4 separate regions of the Homo sapiens genome follow, and all the other regions are linked to region 1. The links are contacts of gene promoters, found by promoter capture Hi-C in blood cells and fetal thymus (Javierre and others, 2016). All regions are on one chromosome and are shown on one strand. The core of a region is centred on a gene start or on the middle of the fragment in contact, and the rest is flanking DNA. Distances in the headings are between cores, read along the strand shown.

The links. Contacts are between HindIII fragments. The CHiCAGO score rates a contact against its expected background, and 5 or more counts as called.
Region 2: a contact is called between a fragment that was not itself captured here and the fragment with the promoter of ZBTB18 in region 1, in 1 of 17 cell types (fetal thymus). The highest score is 8.8, in fetal thymus.
Region 3: a fragment that was not itself captured here is called in contact with the fragment with the promoter of ZBTB18 in region 1 in 1 of 17 cell types (fetal thymus); the score reaches 8.9 in fetal thymus.
Region 4: a fragment that was not itself captured here is called in contact with the fragment with the promoter of ZBTB18 in region 1 in 1 of 17 cell types (endothelial precursors); the score reaches 7.2 in endothelial precursors.

The regions. Positions count from the first base shown.
Region 1 is chr1:244,045,500-244,052,668 of GRCh38, forward strand. It overlaps ZBTB18 (zinc finger and BTB domain containing 18), which reads left to right and starts at 5,784. Exons shown (of 2, transcript NM_205768.3): 1 at 5,784-5,945. The coding sequence starts at 5,933. LINC02774 (long intergenic non-protein coding RNA 2774) reads left to right here. Exons shown (of 12, transcript NR_033883.1): 12 at 1,393-1,818. LOC124904570 (a long non-coding RNA gene) reads right to left here and starts at 2,742. Exons shown (of 2, transcript XR_007066975.1): 1 at 2,512-2,742; 2 at 184-2,098. RefSeq lists enhancers at 2,423-2,582, 4,793-4,842, 6,559-7,060 and silencers at 2,753-2,872, 5,023-5,112. The HindIII fragment of the contact is 5,583 bases long and covers 1,137-6,719 here.
Region 2 is chr1:243,417,519-243,424,798 of GRCh38, forward strand. It overlaps SDCCAG8 (SHH signaling and ciliogenesis regulator SDCCAG8), which reads left to right. Exons shown (of 18, transcript NM_006642.5): 15 at 450-558. Among named protein-coding and RNA genes, the nearest start is that of MIR4677, 75 kb to the left of the region's middle. The HindIII fragment of the contact is 7,890 bases long and covers 1-6,695 here.
Region 3 is chr1:243,500,765-243,507,739 of GRCh38, forward strand. It overlaps AKT3 (AKT serine/threonine kinase 3), which reads right to left. Exons shown (of 14, transcript NM_005465.7): 14 at 1-4,570. The coding sequence ends at 4,485. Among named protein-coding and RNA genes, the nearest start is that of MIR4677, 160 kb to the left of the region's middle. The HindIII fragment of the contact is 486 bases long and covers 5,026-5,511 here.
Region 4 is chr1:243,360,870-243,368,048 of GRCh38, forward strand. All of the region lies in intron 12 of SDCCAG8 (SHH signaling and ciliogenesis regulator SDCCAG8), which reads left to right. LOC124904569 (a long non-coding RNA gene) reads left to right here. Exons shown (of 2, transcript XR_007066974.1): 1 at 1-1,409; 2 at 1,524-3,295. Among named protein-coding and RNA genes, the nearest start is that of MIR4677, 18 kb to the left of the region's middle. The HindIII fragment of the contact is 1,676 bases long and covers 2,492-4,167 here.

The sequences.
Region 1 (7,169 bases), core at 4,534-7,033:
AATTTTTAAAGAAACATTCCATTCCTGTAGGAAATTAATACATTTATAAAATATCAATATCCAAAAACTAGTTTCCAAGATAACTTTTTCAATATGACCTATTGCATAAAGTGTAATAAAAACACTGAGGTTTTTCAGAGATTTGAGCTGTGGTTCACACTTAAAGGTCAGACATTCATTTTATGGAGTTGCTCATCAAATTAAATTTTATTTGATCCATCAACATTTTATACTATTACATTGTTATTAGTTGAAATGAATATGTTATTAGCACATAAAACTTGTTCCCTGGCAAGAAAGATTCATTTGTATCACTTTTAATTTCAGGACACCTAGAAAAGTATGGATTAACTAGAACTATACAGGACTGGATTCCTCCAGAAAGAAAGTATGGTATCTTTTCCCAAGAGCTTAGAATGTATACTTTTTGCCCTTTTCTCCCCCACTATGGGGGGCTGGGGAGAAGTATAGATTATTAGCTAAAAAACAAACAAAAAAACCGACAAACTCGACAGGTGTCAAGTAGCTGTGTGTCTTGGTAATTTGCTCAGCCTGTTATATAGTGGTAAACACCCTACTTTGAGGTGCTTACTTGAGGCGGATATTCAGACTTTGACTTATTACCTTCCAGGGTTCCAATGGGTATTAAATAAAAATACTACTCATTCTGTATTATGACTCCTCCGATATCAGCCTACTTTTACTCACAATTTTCATGGTGATAACTTTCCAAAGGATTGAAAGTATCATCTGTACGATAAGTTTATAAAACAGTTTAAGACAAGAGAGTAAAAACAATTTATTTAAATGTGAAAAAAAGGGCATAAAAGACAGTCACACTAGGGGACTCTGGATAAAATGGTTGTAGCAACTGAGGGGCAACAGATTTGCTTCCTTAAATATCCATTTAATCTATATTTCCTGGCCACACTGCTCAGTTCCCAAAATGGATTCTAGTAATGACTGTAAGGGAAACACAATACACACACACACACATACACACACAGGTTACAATTTTTGATGTATCAATGTCTCCTCCATATCTTTGGGGCTGTTACTCTACTTGCAGGTACATTCTATAAAACATTTTGTTAGAGCTATGCCTTGGCTTTAGATGCAGTACAGCTGAGTTTCTAAGCTTTTTGTAGATAATCCGAGTGTACTAATATTTTCATGAATTAATATCCTGACACTATCAATTACTTTCTGTCTACTCATGTAGAGATCTGTCACTCTCCTTAATTTTAACTTTTAGTAGATGAGAAACAGCTTTGATAACGCAAACATTTCTTTTTCCCTGAATTAGTTGGTGAAACATATACTTTTCACATCTCATTTTGTGTGCCTGTATATTTCATTCGTGAATAACATTTATTCCTTACCTTGAAACAGGTCAGACTGAAATTGGGCCTTCTACCACTAGACTGAAAAGACCTAGAATTCATCGACAGCACAGATACAACAAAAGCCTTCATGGAATACAAAAACTCCAATTTTCATAGGATATCCTTGACCTCAGTGATGAATCATGAGGGCGTAGAGGGTTGAGAAAAAAGTAGGCACATCACTACTGTTTCTAACCAGATATCTCGAAGCTATTTCAGTTCCAGGAATTCTGTCTGCTCCTGTTTTTACTTCATTAGCAATTCAACATGTCTGATTTGCCCACACAATACTTTCCAGCTACTTTACCCATTTGACCTGGAACAAAGTGAAAGCACATTTTGCCCAGTTGAAAGGTCTCCTGGCAGGTTGGTTAGCAACAGGCTTGCCAGTCTGGGTTCTGTTAGCAAAGAATAAACACATTTCATTAGACAATGACTAGTGGACTGACTTCCTCACTATGAAGTTGTTTTTTTTTTTCTATTTTATTTTCTTCAGCCATTCCCCCTCCCCCACCACTTGTTATTCAACTTTTTACTTGTAATTCTTGCCTCGATACGATTTCCAATTTCTTGACGGCAGACATTTCCACGTCTTTGTGGCTGTGATTAACGCAGTCTAATTGCCAAGAACAGGTACCGAGTAAAAGTTTATTTGAAGGAAAGAAAAGCGACACAGCAGTCTTACATCGTCCCTCGGTAGTTTAAAGTTGTGGCTAGATACGTATCAATTAAGGAATCAAGCTGAGGCATCTGCAAGTACCAATTTTACTGTAATGCTCTAAAATTTGGTCACTTGGGGAAGTCTTTACTTGTAACAGTGTAAGTACACAAGGGACAGGAGGGTTTTGCGAGAAAGGCGGGCGCTCTGCCCTGTTCTGCCCGTGACATGATGACGTAAGAACGACTCCCAGAAACTGCCTGAGTCGCCTGCGTCCCCAGCTCCCCGATGTGCACCTGGGCGCGGGACGCCGCAGGACGGAGCGAGAGCGCTCCTCGGTCCCGCTCCCCTGCGCACGGGCCGGCGAGGACCCGGGCGTCTTCACCCCCACAGGAAGGAGCAGAGAGAGCCACCCGAAGTCGGCCTCGAGTCATCCGTGTCCCCGGGTGCCCTGCCTCTCCAGGATACCTGCGTAACTCGCAGCAGCCAAGCCCCACTACGTTCAAAAGTGTGTTTGTGGTTGTCACAGTGCACACCGAAAAGCTCGCTCCGCACCCGCAGAGTGCGCGGGGCCTCTGAGCCTGGAAACAAGCCCCTCCCAGCGCAGCTGTCGCCGCCGCCTGCGGGCTCCTTTCACTTTCTCACGGCCAAGTCACCCAGAGGGGCGCCGCTGCTGCCACCGCCGCTGCGCCCGAGGACTCCGCCCCGCGCCGCTTCGCTCCGGATCCCCGCCCGCCCGAGCCCCGCCCACCCCAACAGTTGCTGCCTGCGATTGGAACGCGCGGGAGGGCAGCTACGGCTCGCCACCCCCATTGGCTGGGCCCCCTTGTCAGTCCGACGACTGCCCACCACCCCCTCCGCCTTCCCGAAGAGCCGCCTTCCCATTGGAGGAGTCTGAGGGCTGGGGGCGGGCGGGGAGCGCCGGTCCAGCCGCTTTCGGTCAATCGCAGAAGCCCAACGCCCGGAGGGAGGGAGGCAGGGGAAGGAGAGGGGCGGACTGAGGGTGGGGGGAACATCTGGCCGGCGCCGCCGCGTGCGTGCGTGGTGCGTCCTCCCGCCCCCTCCCCTCCCCCTCCCCCGCGCCCGCCCCCCCCCCGCCCCCGCCCCCCCACCCGGCCCGGCGGCTCCGCGCTCGCTCCCTCGCTCGCTCCCTCGCTGTGTCTGGCAGGCTGCGGCCGCCGCTGGGCTGCTGCCATGGGGAGCCGTTGAGAGTGGGGCCCTCTTCGCTCCGCCGCGCTCCTCCGGCTGCCAGCGGGGGTGGGCGGGAGGGAGGGGCGGGGGGGAGCGGGCGACGGAGCCGGGATTGGGGGGTGGGGGGGCCGGGAGGGAGGGGGGCAAGAGCCGGAGGAAGCCCACCAAGTCCGGCGGCGGCGGCGGCGGCCGGGAGGAGGAGGAGGAGGAGGCGGAGGACGCGGCGGCGGCGGGGACGCGGTGACTTAGGGCCGCTCCGTGTGAGTCCCGGCGCCGGCCCCTGGCCCCTGACCTGGCGCCCCCTCCGCGCCCCGGCACCCCGGCGGGCGGGGGGCGCCAGCTGTGCGGCCCCGGCCGGCTGGGCGGCGCGGGCGGAGGGCGGGCCGGGTCGGGGGCGCCCCCGCGAGTGGAGTTAGTTTGTGTGGTTGGAGCTGTTGGGGCGGCGGGGGGCGGCGCAGCTGCGGGAGGCCCGGGCGCGGGGACGGGGCCGCTGCAGCTGCGGGGTCGGGCGGGGTGCGGGTTCCCGGCTCCGCGCCGCGCCCCCGCGGGCCGGTGCAGCTGCGGCGCGGGGCGGGCTCCCGGCCGGTGCAGCTGCGGTGGCGCCTCTCGGGTGCGGAGGGCGGCGGGCTGGGGGAGGGGGCTTGGGAGCAGCCGCAGCTGCAGTGGCGCCCGGGACGGCCGCGGCTCCGGGGACCGGTGCAGCTGCAGTGGCGCCCGGGGGAGGGGGCCGGCGGGGGAGGGGGCCCTCCCGGGCTGGTGCAGTTGCCCGGAGGCCCCGGGGGCTCGCGCGTCGCGGCATCGGGGAAGCGGTAGCAACCACTCTCCTCCCGCTGGCTGCTTCTTACGACTTTTCTTTTGTTGTTGCCGTGACCCGGGTCTGTTTTCTCCTCTGTTGTTTAAGGTGTTTTCCTGCTGCACCGGCTCTGCGCCCTCCACCTCCTTCCCTGTGGTTTTAACCTTCCTCTTTCCCCGTGTGTTTTATGCACGGCGAACTACGTAAAGATTTGCATTGCTTCCCCACTCGGCACCCCCGCCCCCACCTCTCTGAAAAACAAAACCCCAACCTCACAAAACCTCTATGGATCCGCGGTAGCGAGACGTGAAGGGGTTGATTTGTGGAGTGGGAGTTGCTGGCCCATTGCGGTGCCCGGGACTCATTAAACTGTCACTCACCCCCCACCCCACTGGGTAAATGGGGTGATTAATGTCTGATATATTGGAATGGGTCGAGGGCATTTGTGGAGAATAGGTGGTGTGGCTGGGAAGAAATTGATCTCCCGAGGATGTCTCCTGGACTAAGTGTTCATAATTATGTCACTCACCGCGAAGTTGGAGAAAGTTAGGTTTGTGACTTTGGGAAAGCGAGAAGGACAGGACGGAGTCGTCGGGTTTTGTTACTCTTTAACTCTCCGCCACGGCTTTCTAATGGGAACGAAGTGGTTATCACCAGGGCTGGGACGCTGGCGCCTCAGGCCCCAGTTCCTTTTCTACCCCTCGCCCTCCCAAGAGTCTGAGGAGATGTATTTGACATTCAGAGATGTCGCAGCACCCTGCCCGGTACCGGTCAGCCCAGCCCGGGTCGCGTTACAGTTTCATCAGCTATTAGAAAAGACCCACAAACTGGCTGAAAAGTTCTCAAACTTACTAGACCTGGCTTCCCCCCACACAAAGATTTTCTTGTGATCATAAACATTAGAGTGACCCCCCCCCAAAGAAAAAAAAGATTGTTAAGGGACACAGATCAAGGGGAAGGCAAGGTTCTGCTTTTTCTGAGCAGAAAGATCAGATATGCAGGTGCAGCATTCATTTTAAGTGACTGGAGCAGGTTGTATCAGTTTATTAATTGGTCTCGTTGAACTGAAGTACTTTCCAGGATTTCAGAAAGTGCAGTTTCAGCTTGTTGGTACCGAGAATTGAAATTTGCATTGACTGTGGCAGTGTAAGAAATTTTTCTGAGAAGGTAGTTGTAGATAAGTAATTACATAAGAGTGAAATAATAAGGTGAACCAGTCTGAAGTAATAGTTCTGAACAAGTCTGCCAACATTTGAGACATGTATACCATTATCTCAGCAGAAAAAAATAAAAAAGTGCGGTAATAATGTTGAAATGGGACTGGAGATGTCAAATGGGTTGGTTTAAAAATATCCCTAAACTGCTTTAGAAACTAAACGTTGGAGTTGAATAAAAGTGAATCTGGATTTCCTGAATAGCACCGTGGCTTGAGTGTGCTGTCAGTATGTAAGCCAGTCCACCAACTTAAGACAGAAGTGTTGCTATTCCATAAATACAGTAGAACTCCATATGCTGAGTTTTTCAATTTCTTCTGTTAGAAAGTTTGGAAAAAAAGGAAGACTTTGAAGTATTTTGTTTATACTAACAGAAGAGAAAAGTTCTCCTAAGAAAAAGCTGGTGGCAGGAGTGTAGAGGAGTAGCATATGGCATTAAAAGGAGCACAGCTGGAGGTAGCATTTCCATCTGAACATGATGTCAGAGCAGCTGACAGCCTGCCATCCCTCAGCCTTTTATTCTAACACACAGACAGGGAGTTAGTGTGTGCGGATCTGTGGTGGAGAAGGTATCTCATTCCTCTCTAACATCATCTCCACTTTGCATCTGTCTCTCTTAGTCTGCTTTTTTTCCACCGATGTAACAGACCTGGAGCCAGCAGGACTCAGAGGAAAGGACTTAATCAGGTTTATGTGTCCTAAAGGTAGGAGTAGCAAGAGATTAGATTGAGCATATTTCTGTTTTGGTGTTTTGTTTATTTAATTTTAAAAATCACATTACTTTTCTAACCCAGTTTAGGAATAATATATGAAATTGAGTATTAAATGAACATCTTACTGGAGTTGAAAGTCTTGAGCTTGTTTAGTTTTAATTTTTTATCCCTTTTACTTGAGCGAGTAAATAACTTTAATACACAAATATTTCAAGTTTTGAAATGTTAAGAAAGGCTTTAAAATGCTGCTTTTGGAAATCACGTTGGATTAAAATGCTTTTTTGTTGTTCACTGCTATTTAGATTTGATTGGGGTGGTGGTGGTGGGGAAATAGTAAACTGGAATCCAGCATTCAAACTTATATGAGAAGATTATTCTAGTTAAGCAGCTAGATTGTTGTATAATTAATTCCTCTGTGAAACTTTATTCTTCAAAACATTGAGCAGCACTACTGAAACATACAGCTGTAGTGCTGTTGAAACTGCAGGTTTTTAAGAAGAAGAAAAAAAAACCAAACTTTTGTCCCCAGGAGAATAGTTTGACTGGTTTCCTCATTTCTCTTTCAAATATATATTTAAGAGATCTTTTATTTCAGCATAACAATAATTATTTGCAGGAGTTTTTGTGTTAGCGACTAATTTAGAACTTGTAGATTTGAGCTGCCTGAATTGGCCAGACAGCTGTAATCGCACTCCTCTATTCTTAATCTCTTTATCTGGGCAGCAGCTGCCATATGGCCACAGTCAGCTGGATCAGATGTTTATAAGCTTCCTTCTTCGTCCCTCTCTGTCCTCTCAGCCTCCTAATTTGATCACGGCTACCTTGTGAGCTGCCCTCCAATCTTTATTTTTAGCCTTCTCAAGGATTAGGATTGATGTTAGCTGTGGGGCACTTAAAGTGATTGTATTGTAAATCTTAGTTTATTCTAGCAGTGGCATCTTGCAGAATGTGTCTGGGGTTAGGATAAAGTTTTAGTCTGTCTTGGGCAAAGTGTAGAAGAACAAGAAGAAAGGAAGTAATTTCTGAATATTAAATTAAGTGTATCTATTCCCAAAATGCACTTGCTGAGATGGGTGGTGTGGAGGCTTGCTTCTGGTCACAGGAAAGGGGAAGTCGGGTCTTCTTTATTTTTCAGGAGTTTACCCACTGCAGTTGAATTCTGACCCTTTGTACATCTTTGCCTTTCTCCTCCCTCCATTTCACTTTCCCTCATCA
Region 2 (7,280 bases), core at 1,501-4,000, 630 kb before region 1:
GTGTGCAAATATGAAACAAAGCATGAATTACAGTGTAGAAGAGAATTCCTCGATGATTTTAGTTTTGAGTTATCTGGTTGTGATAATTTTTGACACTCTGTTTATAGTAAAATTGTCAAAATAAAAATATAATATCTTGCATATTGCAAAGATATAAGCATCTATTCTTCCACTTGAGGTATTTGACACTTTATTAACATGTTAAAATGTTACACCAAGCTGGTATGATGAAAAATGTTTCTGGTGTATAATTATGTTGAAAATAAATGACTCCCAAGATTGAGTGTCTTTCCAGATGATAAGTCCTTTGACTTAGGACATTGAAGGTGATCTAGTGGCTTATTGGAAATGTGTAGGGGTCTAAGCACTTTACCACTCTATGTATGGAAGCACTGCAGAGCGACAACCATAAACATCTTATGTTGGTGGGGGTTTATTGTTATTTCTAGAAAATGAACAGTATTTGTTGCTGACCTCCCAGAATACATTTTTGACAAAGTTAAAGGAAGAATGCTGTACATTAGCCAAGAAACTGGAACAAATCTCTCAAAAAACCAGGTAGGTGATGTTATAGAATACTTTCAAGAGCACTGTTTGTGTGATTACTCTAATTTTTCCTTAAAAAACATCATTTGCACTGTTTTATAGTCTAATGTCAAAATTAGGTATCTGCTGATGTTTTCTTTGAAAATATTTTCTACATATGGACATTTTCTTAATTGTCTATACGCTTTTATGTTTTTTCATGGTTATGTGTATGTACTATTATTTGACATTTCAATGTTTAGAATTGAAAACTGTGAAATTTCAGGAAAGAAGGATCAATATGGTAATAACATAAACATGCAGATAAATCAAGCAGTTATAAAATCTTACATAGGTATGGTTAACACATTTTAATCTATTGTTACAATTCACCATGAACACAAAAGCTGTCTTTAGGTTAAATGATAACAGATGAAATGTGTATATATAAAAATGAAAGTAGATGGTACTTTGAAATAAATAAACCAAAACTATTCTTCCCTTCTCCTAAAATTGTTATATTTTAATAGAACAGCCATCATTCATTTTATAGCATACTACTCTTTTATAAATCCATTGATTGGAATCTTAATGACTTTTTTCTATACACTTTCTAGTCAGATTATCTCAATGAATAAATTATTTCATATTCTAAACTGCAAGAAGCCCGACTCCCCATCTCAGCTCCGACAGTAACTGAATAATCTTGGACAAATGTATTTGACCTACTTGGACTATAGTTTCTTCTTTTGTAAATGAAAGACATTGGACAGAATCACTTTAAATTGAACTATAGAAGGCAATATTCACATAACTGATAAGATGTCAAATACTACTTTATATGATAACTCAATGAAAAAATTGCCTGTGTGTCTTCTTTTCTGCATTTTTCTGAAACTCACATAGATCTATTGAGAGCAGGAAATATGGCTCAGCAAACAAACTACTGACCTAGATGTTTCATTCGGGAAGGATTTCTGGGAGTATCAGGGCATATCTGATCACTCTGAGCTCCATCTTGGAATCCTGCATCAACAAGCTGTCTTAGCTGATAGAACCCCCATCCCTGAATCTTTTGGGGAATCAGAGGGCTCGTGCATCCAACTCTCCCTGCTCACCAGGAAGGCAGAGGCTCCTGTAACCACCAAGAATGTACTCTGACATGCGCACCTTCCTAGCGTATACTAAGATTGTATTTTGGTAGGGGAAAACCTAGGTGCCAAAATACCAGATATTTCAAGGAAATTTGACCAAGAAAACCAAATGATTTTGTCATGAAAGAGACCCATAAAATATCAACAGTAGCTATTCTTAACCAGAAATACTTGATTTGCACCACATAGATCCAAAAGTAATTTGTTAGAAGCAAACAAACAAGATTGTATCATTTAGGGATAAAATGATATCAATCTGGGTTTTATATAAATGTATTAGGTCTAAAATTGGTTTGTGAATGATTAGTGATCTTGCTCTCCAAGGAGACCTAATTAGGGAAATTTATTATATAAAAGAGACAAAAAGGTGCTTGGTATGTTATTTAATTCTCACCACAACTTGAGGCAGGAATTATTATCTTCCAGATAAGGAAACCAAAACTGTTTAAATAACTGGTGAGTGGGAGAGCTACGGTTCTAACATAGGTATTTCTGGTTCCAAAGTATACGTTCTTTCTTATGGTAATTACAGTATTTTACATCTATTGCTAAAGAAAATTCAAGCCACAGTAGTTATGATGAGAAAGTTTGGGAAGGAAAAATTCACCTTTAAATTTCCGTGGAGAAGTAAGCGTCCTTGGCATGTAACGGTTAACTTACTCTGTGCCCCTAGGCCCTCTTTTTCCTCCTCTAGATCTGTCATCTTAGCCTGTACTGGTCTAACTCAGAACCTCTATTGCTCCTCCTGCTTCTCATTCCTCCAGCTCCTGAACAGTACTTTGTAAATTGGATGTATTCTTTTGTATCTGACATAGATGGCATTTAATGAATAAATGATGAATGAATGAAACAAATAGGTGTGGTGCTATTCGCACCTCCTGATCTGACTTCTGATGCCAGTCTGTCCCATTGTTGATGGCTGACAGTGTGCAGTAAAGAACACATGGCAATTCAGAGGAACTAGGTTTGAATCTCACTCTCCCACTTGGAGCTTTGTAACCTTGGGTACATGGCCTCATTTCCCCAAACCTCAGCTTCTCCTTCTGTAAAAACATTTCTAAAGCCACACTGCAGGATTGTTATGGGAATTAGAATTGTGTATATAGATACGCATACATACACGTATCAAGTGCCTAGCACAGTGCCTGACACATAGTAATACACAGTAGCTGCTATTATTTTCACTGGTGGCATTTTTAAGGGTCTTGACTGGTAATTTGGGTATCACTTTACATAGCTATTGTCTTTGCCAGGGAAAGTCTGACTGTCATTTTCCGACGGACATAAGTCTATGCCACAATGAAAGCCTTTTTAAAACAGCCAGATCAGGAAAATGTGGATCTAGTTGTATTTTGTAACTCTGATGAATTAAAGCAGGCACCTACTCTAAGTTTACAATTTGACTCAACCAAGGCCTGGCAAGTAGTAAACACTTGATAAATTGTTACTTACTATTTTTAAAACTCTCAAGCGCCCCTAAAACTTACGAAAAGTGCATTTTGTGTGCCTCACAAGAAGGTAGTGAATAGGACAAATTTTGATTTTAGGGTTGTTTGTTCTTAATTTCTTTTAGTTCCAGTTTCATTTCTCCCTGGCTTCTTACTATGACATTTTCAATAACTCATTCATGTTAAGTTTTACATTCCATTTTGATGTTACCTTCTGCTTTGAAACCACCTATAAAACTTGAAGGGCTTAAACTGCTTCTTTTAAAATACAAATTATTAATGTAGTAAACTCTGAAGAAGCCCTCCAGGAGTGTGCCTCTGCATACCCCATGCCAAACTATTGGGATAAATAATTTTCCCTGTGCTTTGAGGTAAGGAAAATCTTGGAGTTTCTAAAGTTTTGTCATTGTGGAAACTCAGTCTCCAAATTTATACTTATGCAATCCATATGGTAATTTTGGTCCAGCTTTTCCTCAGAGTATTACAGTAAAATTCTTCTTGAAAAGTAAGTGTATTTATTTTGTATTGAGCAATAATTAAGACATATTTTTCCTTCCTCTGTTACTAGCAACATTACTCTAAGAGTCTTGTTTTTCAAAATACCAACTAAACAAATAGATTCCTACCATTTAAAACAAGATTTTAAACTCACAGATCTAGTCATTTGACTGAAGCCCATGCAGAATGACGGGAAAGCTGAGAGCATGGGCTCGGCGTGCACGTACGCCCTTACTCTCTGCCCCAGCTTCATGCTAGGCTGCTCTGTTGCTCTGTGAAAATGTTTTGAAATGGTACCTCCGTGTGTGTGTCTGTTGTATGTGTTTTCTCCCCAAGGAGACCGTAAGTCGCATTATGGCAGTGACGACTGCTTCTGTTTTCTGGAAGCCTCCATAGTGATTAGCACAGTAGTTTGCGCGCTCTGTGTACTCCACACTGCACGTAGTGGTGTCTGTAACCCCGGGGTTTGTGAATGGCACGTCCCATTTTAAAACTTAAAATGAACTGCCGATTCTGTGCATGTTGTATAGCTTGTTTTTGACCATCAGGCAAGAGAATTAATTCCATTTTGCTTTTAATTGGCACCAGGCAGACATTCTGGCTGATTTTAGTTGAAGCTCACATAAACTTTCGCTATCCTTCCTTCTGTATTCCCCAGTACTCTGAGAGCTTATTATAGTTATGGGGTTGTTTTTTGAAGGAGGTAAACGGAGCTATTTAAATATCTTCGGTACAACTGTGATTTTTCTTTATCAAAGTGAAGGAAGTGTTCTCTCTCCCCACGCGCTTAGATGAATCAGCAGTAAAACGTTGCAGTGCGGTTTGCAGTGCTATCTAACACCTGGCCTGGGAGAGCTGGAAGGATTGGGTGCTGGCAGGGAGTGAGCCTCTGCCAGCCACAGAGTGGAGAGAAGTGTGTGCTAGGTTTTAGCTTCCACCTCTTGCACACTGAAAAGAACAGGATAGAGCATAGAACCAGGGTCTATGTGGTTTTGCTTCTTTCTTTTCTGTCATTGTCACTTTCTGGGTTGTGAGGCTTGTGGACTGATGTCTAACACTGCCCATTGTGTATTTGTGATTTGCGTTTTGTAATTAAGAGGAACAATGGGAGTCCATGGGGTCTCGTTATATATAATGGTTGGTTTAATTTGTTTCACTTCTATCTTGTTAATTGTAAATTGATCATTAAGATTTGAATTCTAATCTGTCACCAGGGTTGTGAGTATTGAGGCTAGAGCAATGATCCCGGTTTTAATCACTGATGATGAGAAACAAATTTTATAATTTTGGTACATATTGCAGTTCATATATTTTAACACTATACTTTATGGTGTTATAAATATTGTTAAATGACTTTTAGTGTAGTTTTACTGTGTGGACTATAATGTGTAAATTATATTACTGTTTTGGCAACAGTAGGTATCCAACTGTGTGAGTTTAATTGAGGTGAAGAACACACACCCGGTTGAACTGTTTTTTTCCTTTGCATGTTTAGATGATGTTAGGTTGGGATACTATAAAAATTATATTTTCTACAAGAGGAGACTGATATTGGCCTCTGCTAATTGTTACCAAAAGTCAAACTAGAACCTAAAAGAATAAAAAATTAAGATATTGTATTTCCCTTTGAAAGCAATTATCATTTTAATCCGAATTATAGTAGTAAAATATATTTCATGCAAATGCAATTATGCAACATAACTGGTATATAAAAATACAGGGGAAAGTTCATGCTTCTGTAAAGCCAGAAATTGCCTGAATTTTCTATGAAAATGGATTAGAGTCAATTATCCTTTTATATGACACAGGATAATCATGCCAGAAATGTATCTCCTAACTAACAGAAAACTTGTAAGTTTACTCTTTGAGCTTTGCAAACTACTAGTTCTAGGAACATATCGTGAGCTGCAGACAGAAAAAGGATGATGTGCAGGCATATATGTCAAATTTTTATTGAAAAATGGAAGTTGGTAGGCAAATTACAATTATAAACAAAGAAAAAAACAAAAATGTGAAGCAGAAAAAAAGATTGTTGCAATACACACTTGATAGTGATGTGTACTTTATAAATAACATTTATATTTTTGGGATTATGTAAGACATCCTCAATGCAGGGAATTTGGAAAATACAAAGAAGAATTAAGGAAAATTTCCTGTGCCACTACCAGCTAGAGATAACTATTCTTACCTCTGATATATTTCCCTTCAGTCATTTTTCATGTGTATGTCTGTGTACATTTATAGTGTGATTGAGATTATACCGTATATACAGTTTTGCGTCTGCTTTTTCATTTGATATCTAATGAACATTTTTCTATATCAGTAAATACTCTGAAAACAAAACTTTATTAAATGATTTGCGTGTATAAGAATTATTAGGCTTTTAAGATGCTTCCAATTTTTAACCGTTTATGAATAATAATACAACAAAAACTTTGTACCTAAATCTAAATTTTTGATTGTTTCCTTAATTGCTGGTCCAAGACGATTAATCCTTTTAAGGGTGTTGATGTGTTTTACCTTGCTGAAGTACTACACTAACTTCTAATAACTGTATATGTAGCCATATTAGTAAATAACATTACAAAGAAGTGAGATTTTTTTAAAAAAGCATGAGAGGCAATATTGCACAGGTGGGTGGAACCACCCCTTTAGAGGTGGACTAAGTAATATCTGGGCTTGACTACTTGGATGACCTTAGGCAAATTATTCAACTTCATGTTTACCTCACAGAGAAAAGAAAAGAAACCCTTACAAGTACCTTATAGGATTAATTGAGATCATGAATGTAAAGGATGGATTTCACTGTTTGTTATACGGTGGCATGCAGTAAATATTTGGTGGTAGTATCTGGTTTTGTTGTGCTATTTTTTGAATAATAGTGAAATTGAATATGTTATAAATGGTATTGATCATTTGTGTTTCTTCTGTAGATATTTTCAATATTTCTTATACTTTTTAATTGGAATTTTGATGGAGAGTGCAGTTAGTGTTTCATTAAATTATGCTTTTAATGTTTGTCTTATTTTTGTAAATAATTTCCTGTTGTTTACATTGATTTTAATTAATAAGCTTTATTTTTTAGAGCAGTTTTAGGTTCACAGCAAAACTGGACAGAAAGTACAGAACTCCCATATATTCCCTGTTCCTTCCACACACAACCTCCCCCACCAGTGACATCTACATTTTGTTTTATTATGATTTTTTTCAAAATCAGAATGAATTTATTTAAAACAAATAAAATACATATCTATTTTAAAAATTTAGAAAGTATGGAAAAGGATGAATACAGAACAGAGAAAACATTCCTGATCCTACCATCCAGAAATAACCAATATTAATAGTTGGTATGCATGTCAAAATATTTTTCTAAATTATAAAATGAAATCACATTACACATGCTGACTTTTAATGTTTTCTCTTTGTTACTAATATGTCACAGTTTTAGATCAATAAATATCACTTATAAATAGCCACATTATCAGAATAATAAGTAACATAACCAAGCTCCTGTTGATAGATTTCTTGGTTAAGTTTCCAGATTATGGGTTGCAAAGAAAGGTTGTTTCTAGAAACAATGCTACAATGAATACTCTCACACAAACCTATGATATATTTTAAATGTGATTTTTTTATGCATAAAAGTTTTGTATTT
Region 3 (6,975 bases), core at 4,019-6,518, 550 kb before region 1:
GCTTTGGAGGCGGTGGCATGATCTACACACAGAGACCATTTGAATCTCTTGAGCATGTAAAAGGTTCAAGCCTGAAACAGTAGAACTTCTATTCAGATTCAGAAGTTTTTTATTTCATCAAATGTGCTAGACATAAAGGCTGTCACATAAGATATTTTAATTGTCCTTAATTCTGTTTTAGATATACTGTGAATAAATTATACAATATTCTAAAAATAGCACCTTTAAAGAATTATAGAGGTCACTTTTTTTTAGCCTCCTGGATCTGTCAACCCCAGTGGTTTTGAGAGAAGAGCACATGTGAGAATGCCCTCAAATTTGGCCGTGTGACATACACATACATGCTTGACTCACTCTGGTCCCAAAAGCCATTCCTCTGTCTGGCTTCGTCACAGGAGCAAAGCCAAGTTTCTACAATAGTAGCTTTATGAGGTAAAATCAGAAAAAGGCCCCATCCAGAATGATTCAACGTGAAGTCAGACTGCAGTCCAGCCATCCTACCCATCTACATCACCCACGTCTAAGTTTGTTAATTTGCCATGACATGTTGTTAGAAATACACTCTAAGAAAGGAAATATGCAGAGCAGTACATTATCAGGAAGACGTTAATGAAAAGCTACATTCCTTCAGATTCTGGGTCCAAACCGTGTGTTGTATAGATGATTCGGGTCTGAATGTCCCCAGGGTCTGAGACCTCCTTCATCCCTGGCTTCACAGTACATCCATCCTAAATCCAGTGCTGAGAGGTCAGCGTTTCCCCTCAGAAGCAGCCGTTCATCAAAGTTTGCACAACCGCACTACTGCCATTTCACTGAAGTAAAAATGATCCCCTATGTGTGTGTGTGTGAGCTACAAGGAATTATTTCTATATTTTCCTGTCACATTTTATACAAGGTAGGTTAATACCAGCTGGGGCTATTAAAAATCATGTTTTCATTAAAGAAGATTTAATTTGGGGGGATTATAGAACCACATCCAACAACAATAAACAGAGAAGTAGCAGATTGACATAGTGCTTTATTTAAGCTGTCTGTACGAAGGAAAATCATGTTCATCCCTATCATATACGTGTAAAAATACTAAGGATGTACAGTGTACAAAAACAGTTTCTCCTAGTTATTCCACATCCTTGTGGGTCATATACTTCAGGAAATAGACAGGTTTAGTATGACCAACAGTAATAGTAATACAGTTTCTTGGGTTTATAGTTGCATCTGCTTAAAATCCTTAACCAGATGACTAGATCTTGCGCAGATCTAATGAAAGAACTAGCAAGGTCAAGAAATGTCACAAACTATAAAGCTACAGGGAGGTAATTCAATTACCAATTTAGAGGTTTTCTTTTTATTTAAATAAATACTTTACATTTCATGCTTGCCTGTAATGCACTACCAGGAGCAAGATAAGGAAATTCTACTGTAGACAGTACAAACAGTAGCAGCAAAGTGTGTATGTTGAGGTGTAATAGAGAGACCCTGCAGTTAGTAAGGAAGGCCCTTACTTTTGTACTCTAGGAGAAGCAAGTGGCCCCTGCAAGAACAGTCAGCTTTAAGAAGCTGGAAATCAGGGATGGGAAATGGAAAACAATACTTGAATAATGCTATGTAATTAGTGTAGAAAGCAAAGCTGAGCGCGACCCTGCCAACCATCTAAGCAGAAATGGCCAATTTCCTCCAAGATGGCTGCATTATGACAAGAAGTCAAGCTTCATGACAGTTAGTATGGGCTGGAGTCTGCAAAGTCTGAACTGTATTCTCATAGAATGATTCCAGGTTTCAGGGTGTTCCACCTGCCAGAACCCAAAACTACAACTATGGGCGACACAAGGGAAGTTTTAGAAATCTCCCTCTACACGCATTTCTGGTTTTCTATTATTCCTCCATGGCAGCTGACAGATCTGGAAGTGAAAATAGGGGATTCTCAAAATCAAAGCCAAGAAGACACCTTGTGTGACACCAATGGAGTCTCAGAGGGTGGAATAGAAGTGACTGAGCCCCAGGCATGGCTGGGAACTGAGAGCCAGTGTGAGGAGTGGCCCGCCTGGGGCAATGTCAGTGCCAGTCATTAATCTTTAAGAAGTGTCCTTGGCCAAGGTCATGGGAATCACTTTAAGATTTGCGGGAGAAAAAACCAAAACAACAAAAAGCTGTGTGCTTAGTGTTCGGTGTCATGCTTTCCCTCTAGAGGAGTAAGTGCTCTGAACATCAGCCAGTCTCAGCTTTCTGCTCTTCCTCTCACCTGTTTCTTTCTTATATAATGGATGCAAGACAACTTAAAGAACATACCTTCTAGTCTACTTTTTTGTCAAAATGAAACATTCAACATAATTCCAAGTGAAAAAAAAAAGATTAGCTATGTGTGTAAGTAAGAATGAACTACCATTTACTGTAACTTCCTACTCAATACTAAGGATGAACTTCACTCAGGTAGAAATATGAAAAAGAAGGATAACGTTGATGTCTGAATATGTCTTAGCTGCCTTAGTAAAATGCCCTTTAACCCCCGTCAGTCCCAGTGGCCCACCCACTGCCAGCAGTGGTTTCATAGCTATAAATCCACACTTCCAGCGTCAAGAGGCTAAGACATCTGCATATGAATATGATTCATCCTACTTAGAAAGTCACTTGCTCTTTCATACAATGCAATCATAATACTACGTCATGCTGTAGTCTTCCGTTTGGGAGCTGTCAGAGTTTAACTAAAATACATTTCCATGATCACTCCGCGGAGTAGGATGGCCTTCTGCTTGCCGCAAGAGTGGCCCCCAGCCCCTAGGACTTCACAGGCTGCTTTGGAAATTGTCAGCTCCTAGCACCAAAGGGTTTAATCTGAAGATCATCATTAATGAAGGAGAAAGATGAGGTTTGCATACATGCCCCCTTTCAGTGAGAAATGTTGGAATCTGGGGGACATGAGTATATACAGAAAAAGAAAAGCTGGAGGTGTTCTCTTTTTTTGTTGTTTTTTCCCTGATGGCTTAATTCAGTGATAAATGTACCATGATCCCAAGAAACACACCAGGTTCTTAGCCTTCACTGCCCATTTCCTAAATACTCAAGATGTGTTCATTTTGCCACGTAAAGATCATTTCTTATCTTCACTCAGGTCTCAATTTTCTTCATTACTTTTTGTTGCCAGGTCATCATAACGTTTCAAATTCTTAAATGAGCAAACGTCAACAGCTATTTGTTTCATTAACCCCTTGGCATGCATAGTTGGGGATTTTCTCATTTTCAGTACCAAGGGGTTAAATGGCAGCATCTCTTCTCCCAAAGCCAAATTCTAACCAATATATTCCATTTCAGAGCCTTATCATTTTTTTTAACAGAGGAGAAAAAGTGCATGATTCTCATCAGCGTGTACAATCCTTGCACATGGGTCAAAAGTAACTGCAGTAAGTCTATTTTATATAAGTTGGAGCTGCGTTTGCTAACATGACATACAATTCTCATCACTAAAAAATAAATACTACTGCAATATAAACAAAATCATAAAAGGACATTCAAAGTTTCAACATCTGAGAAAAAGCTAATTCACGTAGAACTGAAAGTAAAAAATTAAATAAGGCAAACACCTGTTTACCTTGGTGTAGAAATTTTGGTGAAAAGCAGTATCATTATACCTGTCTACATTCTTCAGCCATCAGAGGTGATAAATGTCAAGAAGGAAAAAAGGTTTCCAAGCACAGGGGAAAGATGCTCTCTGGCTCAAATTGTTTCATAAGACCCTTTAAGTGACCTTGACTGTGCATATGCCTTCAGTTCTTGGTAGAACAGTGTTCACTTGCTCATGATTGCCCGTGAAGTCTCGACATCCACATGTGATATGGGCTTCTTCTACAGTATCCACCAGGAATTTAAAAAAAAAAAATTATATATATATATATATATCCCAACAGTTGTTCAGTCCTTCTACCAAATGCTTCCTAATCAATTCCAGCCACAGCTTAGTGATATATGCCTACTTCACGCACGGATCTGATGTGCTTTACATATGCACGCCACCACCCTTCCACAATTGCTTGTTCTGAATTTATAAACTAAATCTTCTTAGTCTAGTTAGTTTTTCTCTTCTAGAAAGTTAAAAAATGTACCTAGAATCAGTGTATCTCATTTAGCCTTCACTGAGGGAAAAACTAAAAGATCAAAAGATGATAATTGGTGCACAAATGAACAATGGTGGGCTCATGACTTCCAAAGGTTGGAAAATTACTTCTTAAAGTTGCTATAATAGTAAGACAGTAGCAGCAACAGCATGAGACCTTAGACTGAGATACAATTTCATGCAAAAACAAAAACTGGAGTGTATTTGCGTGTATGTGTGTTTTCATGAGGGTGAAAGGTGGCGAGGGGTGAGGACCCTTGGCTGGTCTGGGATGTCGGAAGGTGCCCCTGCTATGTGTAAGAGCTAGGACTGGTGATGTCCAGGAATCATTTTCAGTAATAAATTGAAGATGACAGTGAAGTAGCAGAATGAAAGAGACTTATTCTCGTCCACTTGCAGAGTAGGAAAATTGAGGGAAATGCGGCCGCCTCTCATTGTCCATGCAGTCCATACCATCCTCATCATCTGTGGGCAGGAAACATCTATTTTAATTTTACACATTCATTTTTTGCAACATTATCTCTAGTCTATGTTTTTTAAACTCTGAACATAGGAAAGATGAACAGAGGCAATAGCTCCCATAAACTTGTGTTCATCAATAAGCTGTAGAGTAATTATACTTCAAAAATCATCTGATTTTCATAAATACATAGTCTATGAAGAAATAATACTATAGAATCATCTCTAAGACATCAAAATTTCAAGACTCAATGAAACAGTGAAAAAAATGGTATTGAAGAAAACAGAAGTTTTTAAGAAGGAGCAGTCTTCAGTAACCTTTCATTTCATGTAACCACATATATCAAAACTGCAAGTCAGTGAAATCCACAGCATCCAAAGTCTGTATAGAATTCATCATCGAATGTCTTCAAGTGCTTATATTTTTTCTTTGTGATGCTTTAAGTGCAACTGCAAAATAAAGCTTCTTATGAAATTTCATTCAACATCTAGCATCTGGCTTAACTCACCTTTCCCAATTTCCCTATGATAAAACTTTAGCATGAAGGGACTAAGTGAAAGAAAAAGAGGGAAGGATGTCAACATCTGAGTCCTAGCTCATCAGGAAACAATGGAAGAGACTTGAAAGGCATCAAAACAGGCCGCTGACAATCACAGTGTTCCTCCTGTCAGCTTTCCTGGTTTCCTGTATTTCAAAGATCACAGATGATCAGCACCCTGTTCTCATAAATGTCCTGTGATGACAGTCCTGTGCTGTTGGAAGCTCTTCCTGGTATGTGGCCACGTGGTCAGCCACTCAGTCAACATGCGCTCCCACGCATCTGCTCTGGGCTGAGCACCCGTCAGGCCCAAGGACCGCAGAACTTTGAACAAAGTCCCAAGGGCCCCCTGGCCTCACAGTCTCCTGGGGGAGGTGCTCCATTTTAAATCCCCCGTGCTTGCCTCTAAGCTTGTTTAATCATATGCTGTCCTGCAATGGAAATCAGTGAATCTTTCCAATACTCAACCCTTTTCTCTTCAAGCAAAATAATTCGATGTCCTCAAACCCATATAGGAAGTACATTACCAATTTTTTTGAATATTCTAACCTCTCCAGGGAGCATCCGCTGGATGTGGGTGTAAACAAAGAAAGCATACAGGCCAGATCCCACTGCACTGAGGCTCTGACTCTGTCACTCCGAAGAGGAGGGGGCTCTGCCTTTGTCTGAAGAATAAACACTTCCATTCTTGTATCACTGTTTTTCTTTTCTGTATCCCACTCTTAATGCAGAAGATTCTAGAAATGGGATCAAGCTGGCATTAGCCAAAATTTCTGACCCCTAATGTACCAGAAGATATCCTCGTATTAGGTGAGAACTGATCCATCAAGAAGCATTTGTGGCTCCCTGCTCTGTGTAAGACACTGAACTCGGAGGCCCTCTCTTCTTCTGCAAATAGACCACTGTAACTGCAGTCAGCATTTCTAGAAGGTATTGAGATTTGGGGAAATCTCTACCTCCTTATAAAGTTATTGGTTCCAATATTTGTACCAAGCAAGTCACACACATCTTTTAGATCAAATACCTTCAGCAGTATTTTTAGCTACAGTAAAAACGGAAGGAGCTGGGAATGATGGTGTACCCGTGGTTGAGCCCCAGAGTATAAAAACTCTCTAGAGAATACGGGCAGCTAAAACCTTAATGTTCAGATTCTGACATGAGCCAATCACATTTCAAATAAACAATTTTCCTCACCAACAGCTTTATTTTACTCAGTGTTTCTGCACAGCAAACCTGCAGCTGGCTCTGGACAGCAGTGGGGAGCCTGGTGCTTGTCCTGCTCAGCCAGGAAGGGCAGGAGCTGCCTGGACTCCTGGGGCCATGGCCAGGACTCATTCCAGCCCGGCGAGGTTCAGCACCCAGGTTAGCCAGATGCTCAACAGGGGCAGGTGCTAGACACCCTTTTGGAAGAGGAGGGACTCTTGCTGGTGTCAGCTAAGAATTGAGAGACAGCCTTCATTCTGTCACTTCAGTAACACATTCATCACAATTCTGAATCTAGGAAATTTCACAGATATCCCTGAGGGCCCCAATCCTTGATATTCTTTAAAGCCAATGATCTCCCTCCATCATTCCTGCCCCTTTCTGTTGTCAGGCTTGGAAACAATGAGGCGTGAACATCTGATCATGGCCCTAAAAGAGCTGAGAGCCTGGGCAGGGGCTGCGGTGGGAGGGGAGCTGGAGGAAGTGGCAGCTGACTCTGAGTCGGAGCCTGTCAATGTACACAAGTTAGTTCCTGCTGTGAGAGGCTGTGCATAGGGAATAGTGATGATAATGAACATGAACTATGTTTTTCAAAAACACTTATCTGGAAAAAGAAGACAATGATCAACTCTACTTGCTACATCCCTTGAATCCCTGCATCCAAGGAAC
Region 4 (7,179 bases), core at 2,080-4,579, 690 kb before region 1:
CTGATCTTGTCACCCTTCTGAAACCATCCAGTGGTTCCTACCTCAGTAGCAGTCAAAGGCAAAGTCAAACAGTGACCCCCTCATGGCACGCATCTGCTGACCTACAACTGGGCAGTGAATATAGACATTTGCATTTACCTGTCTGGAACTTGGTCATTTTCGTTTGGGCCTGTTGTGTCAGCTTGTCCGAGCTCTCTTGGATCCTCTTTTCAACATATTGCCATAATAAATTATTCCTCTCAGGTTTATGTCACTGGTTAGCAAGGTGCTAACCAGTCTGCCCCCACGACCACTTCAGAGCCTTTGGACTTGCTCTTTTCTTCGCCGGGTTCTCTGGGATATCCTGTGGATCACAAAATAACCCTTCAAGTCATCGCTGAAATCATCTGTGTGAGACTTTCCTGACTACCTTGTTTTATGTTGTAAACCAGTTTCCGAGTACTCCTGCCCCCTTTCTGCTTTATTTTACTCCATATCTTACTCATTTGTTTATTATCATCTTTCCTTATCACAACCTTAGCTTCATAAAGTTATGCCCTCTTTATTCATACTCAACACATTTGCGAAAGCAAAACGTGAATTGCATTGCATTGCATTGCTCTTCCATTTAGCAATTTGGAATGGCTTCCCATTTGCATTTAGAAACATGAGTCCAAACTCCTTTCTACAGTTTATAAGGCCCTGCATAATCTCCCCACTGCCTGTCTTTCCACCCTCTTCTCATCCACCCTTCCCCTGTCCATTCAGTGGAGCCTCCGTGGTTTGCCTTTAGCTTCTCAGACATGCCATGGCCTTTGGACAAACATCTTCCACATATATTCTTTCCCACTCTTCCTTTGCTTAACCAGCTCTTTTTCTTTCTTTTGGTTTCCAATTCAATGTCTCTACTTCACTGGCTACTAATGTATACTCTGTTATTCTCTCACAGCACCTCATTCCCCTCCTTCATGGAGCTTATTATAAGTTTTTTATTATTTTATTGTTCATTTGCTTTTAAACAATCAGTTTCTTCCATTAAAATGTAGGTTGTTTGAGGACAGAGACTTTTACTTGTCTTATTCTCTTTTGTATTCAGTGCCCCAGTGCCCTGATTGCAATTAGGGTCACAGTAACTGGATGGATAGGTGGGTGAAGAGATGGCCAAGTGACTGCCTCAAGTAACACAGTAACTGGATGGATAGGTGGGTGAAGAGATGGCCAAGTGACTGCCTCAAGTAACACAGTAACTGGATGGATAGGTGGGTGAAGAGATGGCCAAGTGACTGCCTCAAGTAACACAGTAACTGGATGGATAGGTGGGTCAAGAGATGGCCAAGTGACTGCCTCAAGTAACACAGTAACTGGATGGATAGGTGGGTCAAGAGATGGCCAGTTGACTGCCTCAAGTAACACAGTAACTGGATGGATAGGTGGGTGAAGAGACGGCCAAGTGACTGCCTCAAGTAACACAGTAACTGGATGGATAGGTGGGTCAAGAGATGGCCAAGTGACTGCCTCAAGTAACACAGTAACTGGATGGATAGGTAGGTGAAGAGATGGCCAAGTGACTGCCTCAAGTAAATTTCTCATTTTACTACCCACTACCCAATGAATCTGAACAAGTTACTGAAAATGTGCAAGCTTCAGTTTTCCTCTTTGTAAAATGAGGATAGATACAATGCCTACCTTATAGGATTTTGTAAAATTTTAGGTCATCTATGTTAACCTCATAGTACAATGCATGACATGTAATAATTGCTCAATACACACTAATAATTACTAGTTTTACTAATACTGTGATCCTTAGCTTTTCCACCTTCATCTCTCTCCCATCTGTGTCCCATTTTATCACATTGCTTTCCAGAGTCGTGATGATTACTGAATATGAGACTGCTAGTTTGAACTGCCCAGTGCATAGCAGTGGAGCTATTGCCTAAGCTTATGTTAATCTAGCATCAGAGCCAACTATCATTTGCCTTATTGTTTATCAAATATGTCTCATTGTAAATTCTTATTGAGCTTAAAATTCAATTAAAACCCCTCATGGCACGCATCTGCTGACCTACAACTGGGTGGTGAATATAGACATTTGCATTTACCTGTCTGGAACTTGGTCATTTTCGTTTGGGCCTGTCGTGTCAGCTTGTCCGAGCTCTCTTGGATCCTCTTTTCAACATATTGCCATAATAAATTCTTCCTCTGAGGTTTGTGTCACAGACACATTTGATCAGCACATCGGTGGCATCCTCATTAAAGTCAGTGGTCTAAATAGTATAGCACAGAGAGCATCACAGAGCCTATGACCTGCAGCTTCCTTGTAATTTGATATTTGCTGTTCTGTCTTCCATGTGATTTGTTCTAATTGATGTTTAAGAACCAGATCATGTTTATTTTTCTGTTTAAGAACCAGACCATTGCCTTCTTCAAAATAATTCTAGTCAAATAAAAAAATTATTTTTATGCCTACTGTGTGTAAGTAGCTTGCCTAGATACCGATGAACCATGTGACAGAAGCTTGCCTTGATGGTGGGCAATGAGGAAATCGGGCATGGATGGCTAAGAAATCAAAGTGCCGTTGTAAATATGGAGCAGATTTGTAGTTTGGCAGGATATAAACCCGTGTTGGGAAACTCCCAATGAGAGGTCAAAATTGAAATGGGGCTGTCTGAAATTCCATTTTGTTCATCTAGATAACCTGGATAAATGGGCTAAATTGGAAATTTGAGTCTTAAAATCATTTTTTTGAGATTTCTCCTATTCATTCTATTGACTTACTCTCCATTTTAAAGTCTTTTGTCCTAATCATTTACCCTATATCTCTCTGTTCTATGCCTATTTTATTTTTCTTTATGAAAATGGGTGAAAGCAGGAATTTTGCTAGTTTTCTAATTATCACAGCATATAAATTCAGTAATGTATGTGAAAGTGTTTTCTAAACTATGAAAAGCTGTATACATACATAGGAATAGAATGGATTGTCAATAAATTGAAGAGATGAGTTTACTCCTTTGTATGTGGAAGCTGTTAATTTAAAATAACACACTCAAAATATTAGCTAAAAATCTACTTCACATTTTGGTGCTGCTTGCTAAAATTAGTTAGAAAATATAGGTTATTTTTGAGTTAAAACCAAGTTCAATAAATTCTTAAGTTCCTCAAATAGAATTTTACAGAAATATTTACATAACCCACAGCTAAAGTGAGTTTTCTAAGAACTCCCCATAAGGTGAGATCACGTACACCATGTCTCAGTACAGAAGGATTTTTTTTTCAATCAGTTATGTCTCTATAAATAAACCTAGTTTTGTTGTTAAAATTGCTGTTTCCTCTTCACATAAGAACATGTCATTAATTTTGGTGAAAACCTTCCAACAAAATAAGGTTAAATTGTCCAGTTTTCCAGTGGAAGAGGAATTATTTTGTGTCACCAACAAGCAGAGTAACAGCTTAAAGGTAAGTTGAACACAGACATGCTGTTTGGGTGGTCAGAATATTTTGCATCCAAGCATAAATGTTAGTAAGAGCCTATAGGTGAGAATGCTTTAGGTATGTTTTTAGTAATGCTTTACCTCTGCTACTCTCCTTAGGATTTGGGAACCAGAGCATTCATACTGATGTTCTCTGTAATTAGGTACACCAAGGAGTAACAGAAACTGGGTAGGTAGGTAGGTAGAGAGAGGTGACCTCAGCCAGAGCCGGTGTGTTTGTATAGGCAAGAAGAGGAGCTGTATTCCATGGTCTGAACTATTAAGTGATCCAGACTACAAGAATATGACTTCCTTTTCTCAGTTGTTTGAAGTTCATTTAGCGAAAAATTAAAATACAGTTTCCTATAAAACAAAATCATTTAGTTTGAACTGGAAAAACATTTGAGGTTTTCTTGGTTTGAGAGAAAATAAACATTTTCTTTTGTCCTAGCACCTATACCAAACAGTAATATTGACAAAAACCAAACCTAAGAAAATGCATTTTTTTTCCTCTAAATTAAGAAATAGTATGTATGGCTTTAAGATGCTGCTTAAAAAAAAAGAATAAGTCTTACATTTGTTCTAGTTGTCAGAGATTGACAGAACTAATAAGAGAATAAAAGAGCAAAACGAAAAAGTTCTTGCTGATTAACAGTTGTCTGAGGAGAAACAGACGATATGTTTTCTTTATTGCATTGAAAAGTTAATTATTACCAATAGAAGCTTATTTATGCTTGTAACTGAGTTAGCGTTGTGGCTTGGCATTATTCCACATTTGAAGGGAAATGGGTATCGGCGAAGAGTCTGGAGCTTGAGTTCTAGTACAGTTGAGTGGGCTTAGCGAGTGGTTTAACTTCACTGGATCCCACGTTCCCACCTGTAAAGTGAGGCGATAGATTAAGATGATGACTGAGGTGTCTTGTGTCCCTAACTGCATGTTTTTTTCCTAAAGGCCTATTTTGTTTTTTATGAAACAAAATATTTTATCTTCACAGGGAAGTTTACTCCCAAATGTTTTTGGGACCATTTAGATAGGAGTACACTTTAGAAAAAAATATAAGCAGCACAGTATTTAAAGAACAGAAATTGTATTTGCTAAGTAAATACTGTACATCGAAGTCTTGGAAGTTAGATACAAAATAAGCCAAAAGTTTCATTTTATATTCCCTTTAGCAATCAGAATATTTGATTATTTTCTAGACAGTTTCTGTAAGAGTACCATTTGGTATAAGAGTTTTAATTTGTGATAGTAGAAAAGTAATAAAAATGTGTACACCATCTAAGAGACAAAATAATTTTGCCAAAAATTGCCTTTTGTTCTGGTTAAGAATAAATGGGCCAATTTCTTTTACACAATAATTTTTAGTAGCAGATACCATATCTAAAAAACTATATTTACTATGGCAATAGTAGCAGACTAATTATCCAGCTTTCTTTGGAAATTGTGACTTTTGTAGTTGTCAATACTTTTATATCTACACTGAAAAATTTTTGGCTTTGAAGAGTATGCCTGCATGTATGTTGATTTTCCTGTAATTTTAGTATCTGGGAAAATATTCCATCTGAAGCATATGTAGAAGTATAGAAAATTGTTGAAATTCCATTTTGAAATGACCTTTAGGCTGCTCTTCATTTAAGGTAATAGTGTCAATTTTGAACAAACTGTTTCAAAAACTTTATTTAATTTAGGATTATGAATGGCATCCTTGTTGGTTTTTAAGTATTTTTAACCTCATGATGAGAATCTGAGAGCATTGTAAATACATTTAATAATGAAAAAGATATTTTCTAAACTTGAAGTCAATAATAAACTTCTTGTATTTAAATTGACTTATGAAGTTTTCTTAAGGCAAAATCAGTTATAACTTTATGAATAGCAATATTTTCAGTTCATTTAAATTTATTTTATTTTTATAGATAGTGAAAGCATCTGTATCTTATTTGAAAGTGCCTGTCATTCTCTTATTTATTAAAATTGCTTTAGTGTGGTTTTTATATTTAGTCTTGGTTTTTACTTGTGTTTAGCCATATTTCTACACATAGGGAATGGTGCAGGAGCTACACCACTGTAATTAGTAGTGGGCAATGTGACCAAGTTTTTTTAATCTTATATTTCAATATAATTTCAATGCAATTACTCTATTGAGTAATTAATAACTTTAATGTTTAGACATAAGTGAATATAATTAGCCCAAAATATAACAACATAATGTGAAAATGATGTTTAGACTTCACTTACTGAGTCCTGAAGCCCTAATATTAATACTTATAATTTCCTGCTGTAAATTTTTATGAAAACTAAATAAGAGTATCATAATAATTTCTGTTATTTACTGTAGCCCAGATGATTGTAAATTTGAGGAGGAAATGATGTACCTTAGATGTGTCATTGGACTTGCACTTGTTTTTTATCAAAATGATAGGGAATCAATTAATATTTTAATAGTTACAAAAGAAAGTGAAGAGTGAAATAGCTTGGATATTATTCATATATAGTGTGTATATGTGTGTGCACATATGTATATGTAGGTATATATACATGTATATAAAATTATCTGGCCATCTGGATCATATATATATGTATAATGTCTGGCACATTGCACATAGCAGGCACATAGTATGTGCTCAAAAATATTTATTGTATTGAATTGAGAGCTTGGGAAGGAATAGTTTAAGGGAATAAATTAACAGTTTGCTTTCCTAAACTGGAATTATTTTATTATATTTTATTTTTGCTTTTGGATGATTTTTCTCAGTTGGCAAAAAAAACTATTGTCAAATGGTAATAAAAGTCAATAACTGTAATGAATATTCCTTTTATTATGCTGTGATATGTTTTCCTGCATTTTGGGTAACTGTTTAAAGATAATTTTTCTTTGGTAATTCTTTTATCTACCAGCTTTTATACTTTTTAGATTTTTCATTTTTATTCGCCATTGGAAAGACTACTTTTTTTATATGGAGATGTCCCACCAGAAAAGATTGTTTTCCTGGTTTTTTGCAGTTCATTTTGAAAGAAGCAACTCCAGGTTTATTTTTGATTTGAATACAGCTAGTGTAGCATGAGAAAATCCTTTTGAAGTGCTTTCAGAAGGATTAGGTCAGGGTTAGGTGTAGTTTTTTTTTTACATAAAGTAAATTTAGAGTTGCTATTTTAAAAAATTGTGCCAATTTGTTAGCAAACACAGGTCAAAGGTACCTTTACACTGGTGACTTTCACCTCAGAAACAGTGGGTGATCTTCACCAGTCACCCTCTTTCTGCTTTTCTGCCAAGGAAGGGATCATGGCTTGGTCTCAGGGAAGAAAGGAAGGAGTCCCAGTTTCTTCCTGGTACTTTTGTTTACTAATGTACTAAGGGCTATTTTATTAAATAGCATTATAAGTCAACTTGAATATATTACATATATTTAATATATGCATTCATGTATAATATTAATATAATATATATGTATATCTTAAAATAGATGTATATATCTAAATATTATATGTAAATATACATGTGTATAAAATTAGTCTTATATATTAACATTTTAAGTGGAAAATGATTTTTTCTTTCATTAAATTGGAATGTCAAGTACATGGCTGACATAATTTCCTTCTAGAAAATAAGAACCTGGCTAGACACAGTGGCTCATGCCTGTAATCCCAACACTTTGGGAGGTCAAGGCAGGAGGATCGCTTGAGCCCAGGAGTTCAAGACCAGCCTGGGCAACATGACAAAACCCCGTCTCT